Linked DNA regions of Homo sapiens: all the other regions are linked to region 2. Evidence: promoter capture Hi-C in 16 types of primary human blood cells and fetal thymus (Javierre and others, 2016). All regions are on one chromosome and are shown on one strand. Each heading gives the region's core, a stretch centred on a gene start or on the middle of the fragment in contact. The rest is flanking DNA. Distances are from core to core; before and after follow the strand shown.

Region 1 (2,700 bases), core at 133-2,632, 150 kb after region 2:
CCCATGATAAATACATCTTAAAGCTATGAATTTTCCTCTAAACACGGATTTGGCTCCCCATAGCAGTTGTGATGGTTGGCTATCATTGTCATTTATTTCTAAATAGTTTTCAATTTTTAATCAAAAATTGAAAATCAGTTTTTAAAAATTAGATTGGTTTTAATTTTCTCTTTAATGCAACAGTTATTTAGGAGGTATGTTTAAATATTTTAAAGGGATAGTTTTTTTTGTCACTGTTGATGCTACACTTTATTGGGAATTTTCAAATTTATTATCGTATAGACCAAAAACATGGATTCTCTGATTTCTATTTATAAATTATTAAGATCTTCTTCACAGTTTAACAGCAATTATCATTTTCTGCCAATGCTTCTTAACTGTTTGAAAAGAATGTGCATTTTCAACATGTTGCATACAAAGTAGAAGCTTGAAATTGTGTCATTTACATTGCAGAGCCCGTACTTATTTCTTGTTTCCTTTATATGTCAATTTCTAAGAGGGGTGTGTTAAAAATCTACCACTATGGTTACAGATTTGTTAATTGTTCAATCTATTTACTCATATATGTTTTGGACAATGTGGTTGGCTTCCTCAGAATTTGTTCCACCTCTTCTATATTACATCATTTCCAAGTGTTTGGGATATTATTGAGTCTTTTCACACCACAATGAGCTATCATAATCTTGGATAATTGAAGAATTTCTCCCCTTTATTCCAATTTATTTCAAAATTTTGTACATAAGCCAAATCTAAGTCAACCAGTCCCTCTCATCCCCTTGGCTGGCCACATTGATTAGTTCAGCCATGGTCATATGACCTAATTTTGTCCATGAAGATTTAGCCCAGGAATTGTTTTTTATTGATTGAAATGAGAGATATCTCTCAGACTACATGCTAATAGGGAAATGTTTGACTCCAGTTGCTTCATCAGCCATCCTCTGATCATGAGGAGAGACTGCAGAAGATGAAATTAATGCCCTGCCTGAAAGCAAGCATGAGAAAAATAAGGAAACCGGGTCTCTGGGAATGTCATTCAGCCACTGGATCAGACTCACCTGACAGCTGCTCTATCTTTGGACTTTTGTGGTCCATTGAATTCCCTTAATTATGTAAGCCAGCTTGAGTTGCATTTTTCTGTTACTTGCAACCAAAGCATCTTAACAAATAAATATATTTCAAGGTTCTAATATTAGGTGAAGAAAAATTCATGACTCACAATGTCTTAATGAATTATATTTTTTCATAAAATATTATTCTTTGTCCTAGTTAATTAACACTTTAGTCCTTAAATTTTATTTTTTTCTAAATACTACCATGGCCAAATCTACTTTCTTTTGTTGGTATTTGCATACCTATCTTTTTCTATGCTTCTCAATGTAAATTTGTCTTTTTCTTCTATATATATCTCTTAGGATAGGATATGGCCTAGTTAGTCACCTTTTATGTCTTAGAAGTTCTTGATTAATTGAAGACAGGTACAAGAAATCAGATGATAAAGCCAAGAACATATTGCAACAGAAGCAGATTCATGGTTGCCTTGGGCTGGCGGTGTTGGAGGGGTGAGAAAATAGGGAGGGGGAGAATGGGAAGTGATGGCAAGGGGTTATAGAGTTCATCATTTTGAGTAATATAAATGTTCTAAAATTGATTGTGGTGATTGATGCACCTTTCTGCGAATATGCTAAAAGCCATTGAGTTGTACACTTTCAATGGGTGAATTGTATGGTATGTGAATTGTATCTTGAAGCTGTGAAAAAAGAAGATATTGAATACATAAAACAAGAATAGGATGCTATGGAGAAGAAGCAATTACAAAGCCAGAAAATAACTCTTGTAAATTTGAAGTATTATTGTCAAAATGTGTGTGTGTATATGTGTGTGTGTGTGTGTGTGTGTGTGTATGTATATACATATTTAAGCATCTTATGTTGCATTTTTCTGTTACTTGTAATATTATAGTAATATTTGAAAAAAATACATATACACATTTATTTGTATACACACATGTGCATATATATCTATCTCTATATGTATAATAAAATTTCCCACAGTATGGGACAATTAGGTAAAAAGGTTTTAAAAAATGAGAGAAAATATAAGAAACCAAGAAAATCAATCCATGAGGTTGAAATGCCTAATAGACTCAAAAATAGAGGACAGAGAGAAAGGGGCATAAATAGTAAAATAATAATATAATAATAGAAGACAATTTCCCAGAACTGAAGCACCTGGGTCTTCAGTTTGAAGGGAACTCAAATGCCCAGCATAATGAATAAAAAAAGGCCCATGGGACATCAGCACAAAATTCCAGAATATCAAGAATAGTGGAAATATCCTACAAGCTTCCAAAATAGGTGGATGCAGGGAAGGGACATTTTGGCATCAGCTGCCTCATCAGGTACTCAGGCTGCCAGAAGAAAGTGAGGACTGTCTCCAAATTTCTGGGGGAAAGGAATTTTGAACCTATACATCTAGGACAAGCCAATGTTTAAAGGCAAATAGATCTTTTCAGATCTGAAAGGACTCAAGGTTGACCTTGCACACATTTTGAGAAATTATTTGGGGTTTCTCTCCACCAAAAAGGGGATGCACCTTGAGGAAGGGCTCCAAGAAGAAAGTGAGTCCATCCCAGAAGGATAAGGAGTAGCAGTCCTTGGGTGACAGCCAAATAGCAGTTAGAGAGTGACTGATCCAAAGAGA
Region 2 (2,700 bases), core at 90-2,589:
GGAGAAATTTTTATTTCACCACTTTAACAGAAACCAGCCACTTGCCAGAAACAGGCAGTAACCATAAACAAATTAATTACTAATATCAAATACTTACCTGGCACTCACTGAGTGCCAGACACTGTTGCAAACATTTCCTGTATCTCATTTAATCTTCACAGCACTGAGGTTTAGGATTATCCCCCCGTACAGGAAAATGGGAAACAGAGAGGTGCAGTTAATTTCCTAATCTCCCACAGCAGTAAGCGGCACCAGGTGGGTTTGGAGTCACCACATTTTTCAAGAACAGTTTAACAACTGGAGCTTCGAGTGTGGAATAATAGACACTGGAGACTTGGAAGGGTAGGAGAGTGAGCGAGGTGGGAGGGATGAGGAATTACTTAATGGGTACAATGGACATTATTTAGGTGATGGTTACACGGAAAGCCCAGACCTCACCACTGCATATCTCCATGTAACAAACCTGCACTTGTGTCCCTTACATTTATACAAAAAACTCCAAAAAAAACCTACAGTGTAATGTAGTACCCTATCCCATGCACTCACACTGCTAAATGTTGTTTCCAACGCACTCATCCGCGCACCCAGTGCCAGCTGCACCCTCCCGTTCCCTGCTAGCCTGACTTCTGGGCAGCAAGACCCTGCGGTTAGACGTGGGCTCCTGCCCACAGGGCTAGCTGGATGTGTGTGTCTTTCAAAGGCTGGACTTTACTCTCACCTCGCCCCCTCCACCCCCCAACACACACACACACACACACACACACACACACACACACAGTCCCTGGCAAGTCCTCAGAGCTCACGTGGTGCCCAGAGAAGTTGTGGGTGACACGATGAGGCACAAGCTCCATTCCCCGGGGGATGTAAGCTGAGACCCTACCTCTCTGTGCAAAGGCTAGTGCCACCTGCATGAGCTAGATTCAGGCAGGACCTGGAGACCCTGGAGGAAAGCAAGGCTGCAGGGTAGCCTTGGGTCGGGGAGGGAGGGACACTCTTAGGCCTCTTACTGAGGGCGGGGGTCCCGGAGAGCCATGGACAGGGCAACGCTCTACTAGGCTCCTTGGTTCATCCCAGATCAGCCCTTGGGCCCCTGGCATCTAAGGCAGCAAAAAGGCAAGGGGACACCGCCCGGGGTGGGGCACGCCACCGCGACAATGCCTCTTGGCCTTGGGTGGATAATGGCACCCCTGGGCAAACCCTAGGGGCGGGGCCCAGAGGCGAGGGGCTTCCCCAATCAGTCTCCGCCCTAGCGCCCTGGACTTCGGCCCCATTCCATTGGGTGAGGGTGGGGGCACGAAAAGAGGAGCGGGCTTGCGGCCCCACCGTGTCCCGCCTCCTCAGTCCCCAGCGACTCGCAGGGGCTGGTGGGGCTGGGGTCCAGCTGCCGTGCTCCCCTGCCCTGCGCCGCGCCGCGCGTCTTGGTAGGCGCTGCGCTGCCGGGGCCGGGTCCTGGGCCAGTGCAACTCCGCCCCCAGCCGTATCCAGCGGACTGTCCTCCGCCGCGCGCCCGGCACAGCATGGGGAGGCGCTGCTGCCGGCGGCGCGTGCTGGCGGCCGCCTGTCTGGGCGCCGCGCTCCTGCTCCTATGCGCCGCGCCCCGCTCCCTGCGCCCGGGTGAGTGCCCGCCGGCCGAGCCGCGCACCCCCAACCAAACCTGGCTCCTCGCGCTTTCCACCGCGGCCTGACCCCTCGACAGCGCGGGGGACACCTGTTGTCTCCTTCCTGGCTGGGGCTAGGGGTGGCGGGCAGGGGCGCTGGTGAGGCACAGAAAGGCTCTAGACGCCCCCGCGAGCAAAGGCTCTTGCTCCTCCTCCGGAGTTACCTCCCCACTCCCAGAGCGGTGACTGTTTTGAGTCCCACAGCCGGTGCCTGGAGACCGGGGTCAGTTGTGGGGGGTAGAGGACAATTGGCCAATCCGGGAAGGCCATCTCCCTTACCTTCACCCCCTTCCCCTGCGCACCCCACGGCCCCTGGACATGAGCGCTGCTGGGCGCATGCGCATAGGAGGGGAAGCTTGGGCCACTCGGTCCGGTCCCTTGGTTGTCCTACTGTGCAGTGGGTGCCACTCCCTGCTCCACCCTGAAATCCACACTGGGTAGGGCTTGGGACTCCTGTGCACCCACTCGTGGTCTGGCTGGGGAAACTGAGGCAGTTAGTCATGACTCCGCAGAGCTGAGTGCCCTGGGCTCCACCGGTGCTGAGTCTTTGCTCTGAGTCTCTCCTCAGCTCATGTGAAGCCTCCCATCAACCCATTTCACACAATCTGAAGCGGGCCAGAGAGTGGGGAGACAGGTGTGGTGGCAACGTGCTGGCTATACAATCTACTTGGGACTGGAGGGGCCCAGCCAGCGCCCGGGTCTCCTGACCTCAGGGCTGTTTGCCTTTCCTTGTATGTGGTATGCGTGCTGGGTGGGACGACTCAGTCCGCCTCCCCACCCCCAGTGTGGGCTCTGAGAATCCTGGGCCCCACCCTTGGAACCTGGCAGACACAGTCCCAGGGAGTAAGTAACTAGGTCCAGGGTGGGCGGGGATGTTGGGCAGTGGGGGTGGGAGTGGCCCAAGACTTGAGGATATCAGGGCCTGGGGAGGCCTCTGCCCACTCCCCCTGACCCTCACACTGCCCCTTGCCCCTTGTGTGTCCAGACACAGCAGGTCAGACCTGGATGCCTCCCCAAGCCCATGGGATAGGGCTGGGGTGTC
Region 3 (2,700 bases), core at 65-2,564, 180 kb after region 2:
ATTTCCTATGACATTGACCTTTTGGAAGAGTCCAGGCCAGTTGTTTCCTAGGATGTTCCTGGATTTGTCTGACTGTGTCCTCACCATTAGATTCAGGTTACACTTTTGACAAGAATACTGCACTGGAGATGTTTTGTGTTCCTCATTGTATCACTTGGGGAGGGACATTGTGCCAGATGGTCCCACTATTTGAGATGCTAAATTTGGTCATTTGGTTAAGGTAGTGACTGCCAGATGTCATCATTGTAATATGGTTTTCCCTTTGTAATGAATAAATCTGTCGTTGGGTGGAAGGGAAGGTGTTGTGACAGGTCCACTCATGGCTGCCTAGCACCCGGTCCCCCCTTCCCTGCAACAGAACCCCAATTTCCTTTGGGGCAGAAAAAATTCAGCACAGATGTCTTGGTGGCCCTCTGAATACTCAGTGGCTGTCAGGCCCTGTGGCCAGGCATGATGGCTCATGCCTGTGATCCCAACACTTTGGGAGGCCAAGGTAGTCCCAGCACATTGGGTGAATAGCCTGTCCCCCAACAATTTTTCCACTCAATGGCTTTAGTATCCTTTGATGATTTTTGCCTCAGTTAATCCTCTGAAGGTGGCAAAGTGGCAATTTAAAAAAATCTCAAATGCCCGCTGTACTGGTTAGCTGGCATTTTTGTGTAAAGAAGAATTTCCTTACCCTCTTTCCTATTCTCTCTGTTGCTGTCTCCCTCTCTTCCTCCCTCTCACTAGAATAGGCTAATGGATTTAAATCAATTAAATGTGCTATAAGCCATTACTCTTTCTATTCTTCTTGATGTTCAAATTGTCCTGCATTTGGCCACTGGGAGCCTAGGAGGCAATTTTTTCTAATTGGGCACATGCCTGCACCTCAGGAAATTGGGGTTCTGTTGTAGGGAAGGGGAAACTGGGTGCCAGGTAGCCATGAGCAGACCCGTCACAACACCTTCCCTCCCCAGAGCCTCAGTTTTTTGGGCCTTAGAACAGGGTAATAAAACTCCTGGCACAAGGAACTTACTCAAAAAGCTCTGCTTCCCTCCCCCTCCTTTCCTTCACGTCCCTTGCCACTGCCTTTATCCTCCTCCTACTTTGGATCAATAATGTTGCATTATCTTCACCTGCTTGCTCCTCGGTTTTCTCATCTGTGAAGTGGAGATAAAGAATATACTGGGTTGTCATGAGGCTTACCTATGCTGCTGTAAGTCTGTGGAATTTCAAGACTCCCCAAGGATTCTTCACAGTGGGAGTGAGGCCACACAGAGTCTCATGGTCACCCTTGGCTCTCACTCGTTTTGCTAAATTAGCTCAGCACAGATGTCTTGGTGGCCCTCTGAATACTCGGTGGCTGTCCGGCCCCATGGCCAGATGCGGTGACTCACCCCTGTAATCCCAGCACTTTGGGACGCCAAGGTGGGAGGGTTGCTTGAGCCCAGGAGTTCAACACCAGCCTGGGCTGGGCAACATAGCGAGATCCAGTCTCTATTTTATATATATATATGCCAGGTGTGGTGGCATGCACCTATAGTCTTGAGAGGCAGGAGGATTCCTTGAACCCAGGAGGTCAAAGCTGCTGTGAGCTCTTTTCATGCCACTGCACTCCAGCCTGGGCAACAGAGTGAGCCCATGTCTCAAAAAAATTTTTTTTAATTGACAAAGATTATATATATTTAAAGTATAAAATGTGATGGTTTGATATACATATACATTGTGTAATGCTTATCACAATGAAATTAACACATCATTCACCATCCATGCTGTGCATTCGATCCTCAGAACTTGTTCATCTTTTTTTTTTTTTTTTTTTGATTTGGAGTCTCGCTCAGTCACCAGGGCTGGAGTGCAGTGGTGAGGTCCTGCTCACTGGAACCTCCACCTCCCAAGTTCAAGCGATTCTTCTGCTCAGCCTTCCAAGTAATTGGGATTACAGGCATGTGCCACCATGCCCGGCTAATTATTTTTTGTATTTTTAGTAGAGATGGGGTTTCACCATGTTGGTCAGGCTGATCTCAAACCCCTGACCTCAAATGATCTGCCTGCCTCAGTCTCTCAAAGTGCTGGGATTACAGGCGTGAGCCACTGTGCCTGGCCAGAACTTGTTCATCTTATAACTAAAGTTTGTACCCTTTGACCATTTCCCCATGCCCCCACTTCCTAATCCCTGGTAACCAATGTTCTATTCTGCTTCTATGAGTTCAACTTTTTTAGATTCCACATATAAGTGAGATCATACAGTATTTGTCTTTCTGTGCCTGGCTTATTTCACTTAGCAAAATGTCCTCCAGGTTCGTCCATGTTGTCACAAATGGCAGGATTTCCTTTTTTATGGCTGGATAAAACACGCGTGTGTGTGTGTGTGTGTATGTATATATATGTGTGTGTAAAACATTTTATCTGCTCATCTGTTGATGGACACAGGTTGTTTCCATATTTTGGGTATTTTGAATAATACTACAATGGACATGGGGGAGCAGATATATTTTCAAGATTTCATTTCCTTTAGATATATACTGTTAAAGGAAAAACTTGAGACTGATTAAAGAGTTTGAGAAAAGGACAAGTTACAAATCAGGGAGCCCCCCAAATCAGAATAGCTTCAAAGAGACTTCAGTGCTGCCAGTGGGGTTGGAGAGGATTTAGGGACAGGAAAAGGAAAATGACATAAATAAAATGGAAGTGAAATACAGAAATAGCCAGATTGGT
Region 4 (2,700 bases), core at 76-2,575, 130 kb after region 2:
GCAGAATGATAAACTCCGGTACGATTCATCCCAGGGAATAGTCAGCAACGAAAATTAATGAACCCCAGCTACAGATACTAACATGCATGAATCTCTGAAACATAACTGTTGAGGAAGAAAACTGCAGAAGAATACCTATGTATGTATGGTTCTATTTATATCAAGTCCCAAAACAGGCCAAAAGGAACCAAATATTGATGAATAATATATATATTTGGTAAAAATGTAAAAAAAAAAAAAGGAAATTTTGCATAGTGGTTAACCCTGAGGGAGGGAGGAGACAGCCAAGGAAGCTTCTACAGTACTAGTGTCACTTTATTATTCTTAAAAATATATATGCATAATATATGTTTTAAGAAACTATACACATCAATGTAAACTTCAAATATATTTGAAAAACACAGCCTATAATTTCATGAACTCAACCCAATAGTTTATGCTTTTGCATACTGTCTTCCACGTATCATTTTTCAACTTTCTGTAAAATGAAGTAAATTCCTAAACGTTGAAAGTCTGTACCTTACACGTAGGTTATCACCCAAAGGCTCGTTTCTAAGTGAAGTATTCTTAAACACAGAATACATTTGTCCTTAGAAATAATGCCGGATTCCTAGTCCGCCCCGAAAAGTTAAGGCAGTGTGCATGAAGCTGAAATTACCTCAGTCGTCCTAACAACCTTCCCGTACCTTCGTTTCACAAACGGGGGAACTGAGGCTCTGCACAGGGTCCTAACCCGGGTCGAGGTCACGCAATTAGGAGAGTTTCTGTTTTGATAAACTATCACAAGCCCACCTCAGGGGACGACCGGGGAGAGGAGAGGACGGACGGCTGACCTCACCGCCGCAGCCCGGGACCCGCGGGCGCCCCGGCCCGGACCCGCCCTGCCCCGGGTGGCGTCCGCGTGGCGGGCCCGGTCGCGCGCGGTGGAACCGGCGAGGGCCGCGCCTACCCGAGTACTATGGGGACAGTAGCTCTTGCTGAAGATCACCACCCGGCTGCGCTCGATGAGGCCCACGAGGTGGCGGCGCAGCTCCTCGCGGGCCTCGGACGAGCGGCTGGGCCCGGGGGACGACAGGCGGGCACGGCGCCCCGGCGGCGACAACACGCGCGCCCCTCGGACATGGCCCGAGCGGCGGTTGGGGGCATCGCCCGCCTTTCCCGGCCCGGGCGACTGCGGCGGCGACCGCTCCAGAGTCTCGCTCTCGCTCCTGGCCCGGCCGGGCCTGCTCACAAACCGAAACGCAGGCGGCTGCGGCGCCGGGACGGGGCCTGAGGGGCGGCGAACGCTGCCCTCGCTGGCCACTCTCACCACCCGCGCGAATCCGCGAGGCAGCCGCTCGCCCCGCCCCCCAACACCGCCCCGCGCATGCGAAATTGGGTCCCCCGCCCGCCCGCAGCCTAGGTGTCACCTGCCCTTCGCAAAGGGGCGGGTACCAAGCGCGAGCCTCTTTATCTCCAGGTTGTGCCTGCGTCCGGAGACCACCCAATCTTGGCGATGGCGCTCTGAGATGGCCTCTGTGCAATGCCTTTTACTCCTAATAATCCCCAACAGCCCCTTTAAACCACCTTAAAATATACGTTCTTCAATTTTTATGGGAAGTGTGAATTGGAAAGATTGATATTTTTAAAAGTTTAGATCACACAAGCTAAATAAATATATTGCGTTTGCTATTGCAATGCAGCTTTAATGAGTTTCCTAGGTTGCTACCCGTCAGTTCCCTTCTACATAGAATTCCAGAGCCGCCCCTAACAAAGGGACTCTGAAACCGCGAGAAGAGGAATCCTCTGTCCATTTCGGTGGATGAGTGGAAGACCTCGGAGCTGAACTTGCCTGCAGTGACTGAGTTAGCCGGTCATGGTGGCGGGTGCCTGTAGTCCCAGCTACTTGGGAGGCTGAGGCAGGAGAATGGCGTGAACCTGGGAGGCGGAGCTTGCAGTGAGCCGAGATGGCGCCACTGCACTCCAGCCTGGGCAACAGAGCGAGACTCCGTCTCAAAAAAAAAAAACAAAACCAAAAACAAAAACCTGGAGTTTCCTTCTTCTCAACAATTCTTTACATTTCAGTTAAGTCCTCTAGGCGGAACCCATGCAATAACCAGAGCAGGGGAAGGAGCCTAGTAGGTACTTTATGCTTTTTGTTAACCTGTGCACTCAGCGATGCTGGAGTGCCTGTCATGTGCCAGATACTGTGCTGGGCGCTGCGGATTTGGCAGAGAATGAGGCTGGCCGCCCTGCTCCTATGAGGTGTGGCTGCGTCTCTCCATCTCCTGGGTCCCATGAGGCACAACCAGTCATGGGGCCATTGTTCAGGTGAGGACACATGTCCAGGATGAGGGGGGAGTGTGTGGAAGCTACGGGCCTTGAAGTCAGGTGCATCCTCCTTTTCCCTGAGACTAATCTGTGGACATGACCCATGTCCCCAGCCGTCGCCCTCAGGGAGGTCGCAGGGCTGGCCGGGTCCCTGCGTGAAGTTTCATCTAGCACCCAATCACAGTGCCTGTGATTTTCACATTAGCTTGGGTCCTCCTCTTTGAGCCGTGAGGGGGAGTAATCAGGGGCACAGACCATGACACTCTTGCATGGCACAGCCTGGCCCATCACACAACATTGATGGGTCATTGACATGGGCAGCCTGAAGGAAACAGACATTGATGGGTCCAGTGACATTCAGAAATATCCACAGGGTCCCTTCTCCCCTGC
Region 5 (2,700 bases), core at 40-2,539, 230 kb after region 2:
GGTTGCCTCCTGGCTCTTCCCTTTCCTTGCCATAGAGTGTCTTGGAATCACAGTGGTAGTCATAATCTTTCTTCTCAAACTCATTACAATTTGGCGTGATCTCAGAAATTACCATGATTGGCTGGGTGCAGTGGCTCACGCCTGTAATCCCAGCACTTTGGGAAGCCAAGGCGGATGGATCACCTGAGGTCAGGAATTCGAGACCAGCCTGGGCAACATGGTGAAACCCCATCTCTACTAAAAATACAAAAATTAGCTGGGCGTGGTGGTGGGCGCTGGTAATCTCAGCCACTTGGGAGGTTGAGATAGGAGACTTGCTTGAACCCGGGAGGCGGAGGTGGCGGTGAGCCGAGATTGTGCCACTGCACTCTAGCCTGGGCAACAGAGTGAGACTACATCTCCAAAAAAAAAAAAAAAAAGAAAGAAAAGAAATTACCATGATCTTCTTTCCAACAAATCTGATAACTTTCCTTCTTCACATTTCCTTCAAGGGGTATTTATCACCAAGTAGCTACTCTTCCTTTAAATGTCCCTTCTGTGAGCCTCTGTGCCTTAGCTATCCTGCCCCCTTTCTGCATGCTCCATCCATCCATTCAAGACATGTTCCCTGAGCAGGGCTGCAGCCCGGGCTGGGCTGGCCATCCAGAAGTGACCCGATCCTGACCCTACTGGAGCCCCTGGTCCAGTTGGAGAAACAGATGTCAAACAAGTAACTATTACCAGCTGAGATAAGCATACTGCTGCAGAGAGAGAGAGAGTGATAGTGATGCCCTAATTTAGATTGAGGTCAGCTAATGCTTCTCTGAGGAGTGGACATGTGAGCCGCGACCTAGAGGGTAAGTGGGAAGGAGACAAAGAATGAGGAGGGGGAGCTCTGCAGTTTGTGGGGAGTGTGCCCCGGCCTGGGTGGTAGAGAGTTCAGTGAGTGAATGCAGCTGCCAGCAAGAAGGGTGTGAACAGTGGGTGGGGACTCATGGGCATGGCAGGAAACTGGGTTTGAGAAGCAGCAGGGAGCATGTGAAAGGTTTTCATAGAGATTCTGGGGAAGATGGCAGAGTGGGCAAGAGCAGAGGCAGGGGAATCAACAGGACTCCCAAGGGCCCTTCAGAGAGATCATGGTGACCCAGACAAAGGACAGTGACAGTATCTGGGGGAAGAATTATGTGGAGAAAGAAATGACACATTTGGTGAGGATGGGGGCTGTGGGGTGAGAAAGAAGGAGGTGTTGAGAATGACTCTTGGGTTTCTGGCCTGAGCCAGATGCCCTTTTTTGACAAGGAGATGCCTAGACTCCTCTCTGGCCTCCCTACCTCTGGGTCCTTCTATCAGTTATGGTCTAGATTGAGCTGCTGTAGCAGAGAGGCCCCCAGATACAGTAGCATAAATAAGAAAGACATGTTTCTCTTTCATGGAACTGTCTAAAGGTAGTCCAAGACTGGTGGGAGCTCTGCCAGCCTCAGCAGCCTTGGGTGCAAACTGTTTGCTCCATTTCTCTTCAGTTCCTGACCAGTGCGAAGGGGACACGGGCCATGTGAGTGCATTCCCGTTTGGCTCTTTTATGGGCAAGACCAGAACTGGGCTCCATCATTTCTGGACATACCCTGTTGGCCAGAAGATAGTCACATGACCACTGCTAGTGACAGGTTGTTTAGGAAATGTCTAGACAGTGTAGCTGGATGCCCAGCCAAAGCTCCATACCAAAGAATGGCTATGGGGGGACAATTGGAAATCCACCACTGTTGTTTGTTGCCTCCTCATTACCTCTTGAAAACACCCACATCCACCTTGGCCCGACGTCTGTTCAGGACCTCTGTTCTCTAGATGCTGGTTGGCCACACCTTTCCTGGTGCCTTCAGGGACCTCAAACTGAGGACATCCAGTACAGAACCTGTCTTCTCTCCATACCTGGGCTTGAATCATTTACAAAACATTGCGCAATTGGGATAGCTGCTCAGTTCTCCATAGTTAGCAGTGGAGGGGTCCTCGAGAAGGCACAATGCTGTCAATTCTGCCCAGACATTCATGGGGGTTGCTTCTGGGGACCAAGCAGGGAATATCCCACAGAGTCGTCTTTGACTATTTTCTCCTAGTGCTCATCTGGCCTTCCAGGCAGCTGACCTCAGGGCTTCCACTGAGACCCCAGATGTGCATGTCTCTGTTTGGAAGATGATCTGTTAAGATGCCACCCATGGCAAAGCAGACAGCTCTTCCCCTGGCTGGCTGTCCAAAGTATGGCCCTGGCCAGACCTCAGATGGGGGCAGTGTTTTCTACCAGATCAGACAGAATCGGAGAGAAGTGCTCCAGAGTTGGCGACTCCCTCCTGGGAATTGCTTCAGGATAAGGACTGAGATGGAGGTCAAGCCAGCGTGGCCTTTGGTGCTAGAGGGTCTGCTAGGGGCAGGCCTTGGTTGGGCATGGCTGCCTCTAGGCCTGAGTCTTGAGTGCCTGGATACCCCTAGCATGTGAGGCAAGTTCCCAGAGCTTTCTCCCAAGCCTCCCTGTAAATGAGCAGACCCACCTAGCTTTAATGCTAATTCCTTTTGCAATGAGCCTGAACTTCCTTGTTTCCCAGTTAAAGCCAGCCCATTAACACTGCCCCATCTGTCACCATAAATGGAAAGTTTTTCTAACAGGTGGGCAGGCAGTTCTCCCATGCTAATGAGGAATCGATGAAATTCCTCCAGGAACTGACATCATGG

What was found. Contacts are between HindIII fragments. The CHiCAGO score rates a contact against its expected background, and 5 or more counts as called.
Region 1: a fragment that was not itself captured here is called in contact with the fragment with the promoter of CHST13 in region 2 in 5 of 17 cell types (megakaryocytes, M2 macrophages, M0 macrophages and 2 more); the score reaches 10.3 in megakaryocytes.
Region 3: a contact is called between a fragment that was not itself captured here and the fragment with the promoter of CHST13 in region 2, in 1 of 17 cell types (megakaryocytes). The highest score is 5.7, in megakaryocytes.
Region 4: a contact is called between the fragment with the promoter of TXNRD3 here and the fragment with the promoter of CHST13 in region 2, in 5 of 17 cell types (megakaryocytes, M0 macrophages, M2 macrophages and 2 more). The highest score is 15.5, in megakaryocytes.
Region 5: a contact is called between a fragment that was not itself captured here and the fragment with the promoter of CHST13 in region 2, in 1 of 17 cell types (megakaryocytes). The highest score is 5.4, in megakaryocytes.

Annotation. Positions count from the first base shown.
Region 1 is chr3:126,674,224-126,676,923 of GRCh38, forward strand. No RefSeq gene overlaps it. Among named protein-coding and RNA genes, the nearest start is that of TXNRD3, 20 kb to the left of the region's middle. The HindIII fragment of the contact is 1,916 bases long and covers 425-2,340 here.
Region 2 is chr3:126,522,816-126,525,515 of GRCh38, forward strand. It overlaps CHST13 (carbohydrate sulfotransferase 13), which reads left to right and starts at 1,340. Exons shown (of 3, transcript NM_152889.3): 1 at 1,340-1,614. The coding sequence starts at 1,518. RefSeq lists enhancers at 664-1,164, 1,165-1,665, 1,726-2,226, 2,227-2,700. The HindIII fragment of the contact is 2,161 bases long and covers 1-2,011 here.
Region 3 is chr3:126,697,900-126,700,599 of GRCh38, forward strand. No RefSeq gene overlaps it. Among named protein-coding and RNA genes, the nearest start is that of CHCHD6, 5.0 kb to the right of the region's middle. The HindIII fragment of the contact is 4,094 bases long and covers 1-2,700 here.
Region 4 is chr3:126,653,799-126,656,498 of GRCh38, forward strand. TXNRD3 (thioredoxin reductase 3) reads right to left here and starts at 1,326. Exons shown (of 16, transcript NM_052883.3): 1 at 950-1,326. The coding sequence starts at 1,192. The HindIII fragment of the contact is 4,771 bases long and covers 292-2,700 here.
Region 5 is chr3:126,748,194-126,750,893 of GRCh38, forward strand. All of the region lies in intron 4 of CHCHD6 (coiled-coil-helix-coiled-coil-helix domain containing 6), which reads left to right. Among named protein-coding and RNA genes, the nearest start is that of CHCHD6, 45 kb to the left of the region's middle. RefSeq lists an enhancer at 2,347-2,700. The HindIII fragment of the contact is 4,734 bases long and covers 1-2,700 here.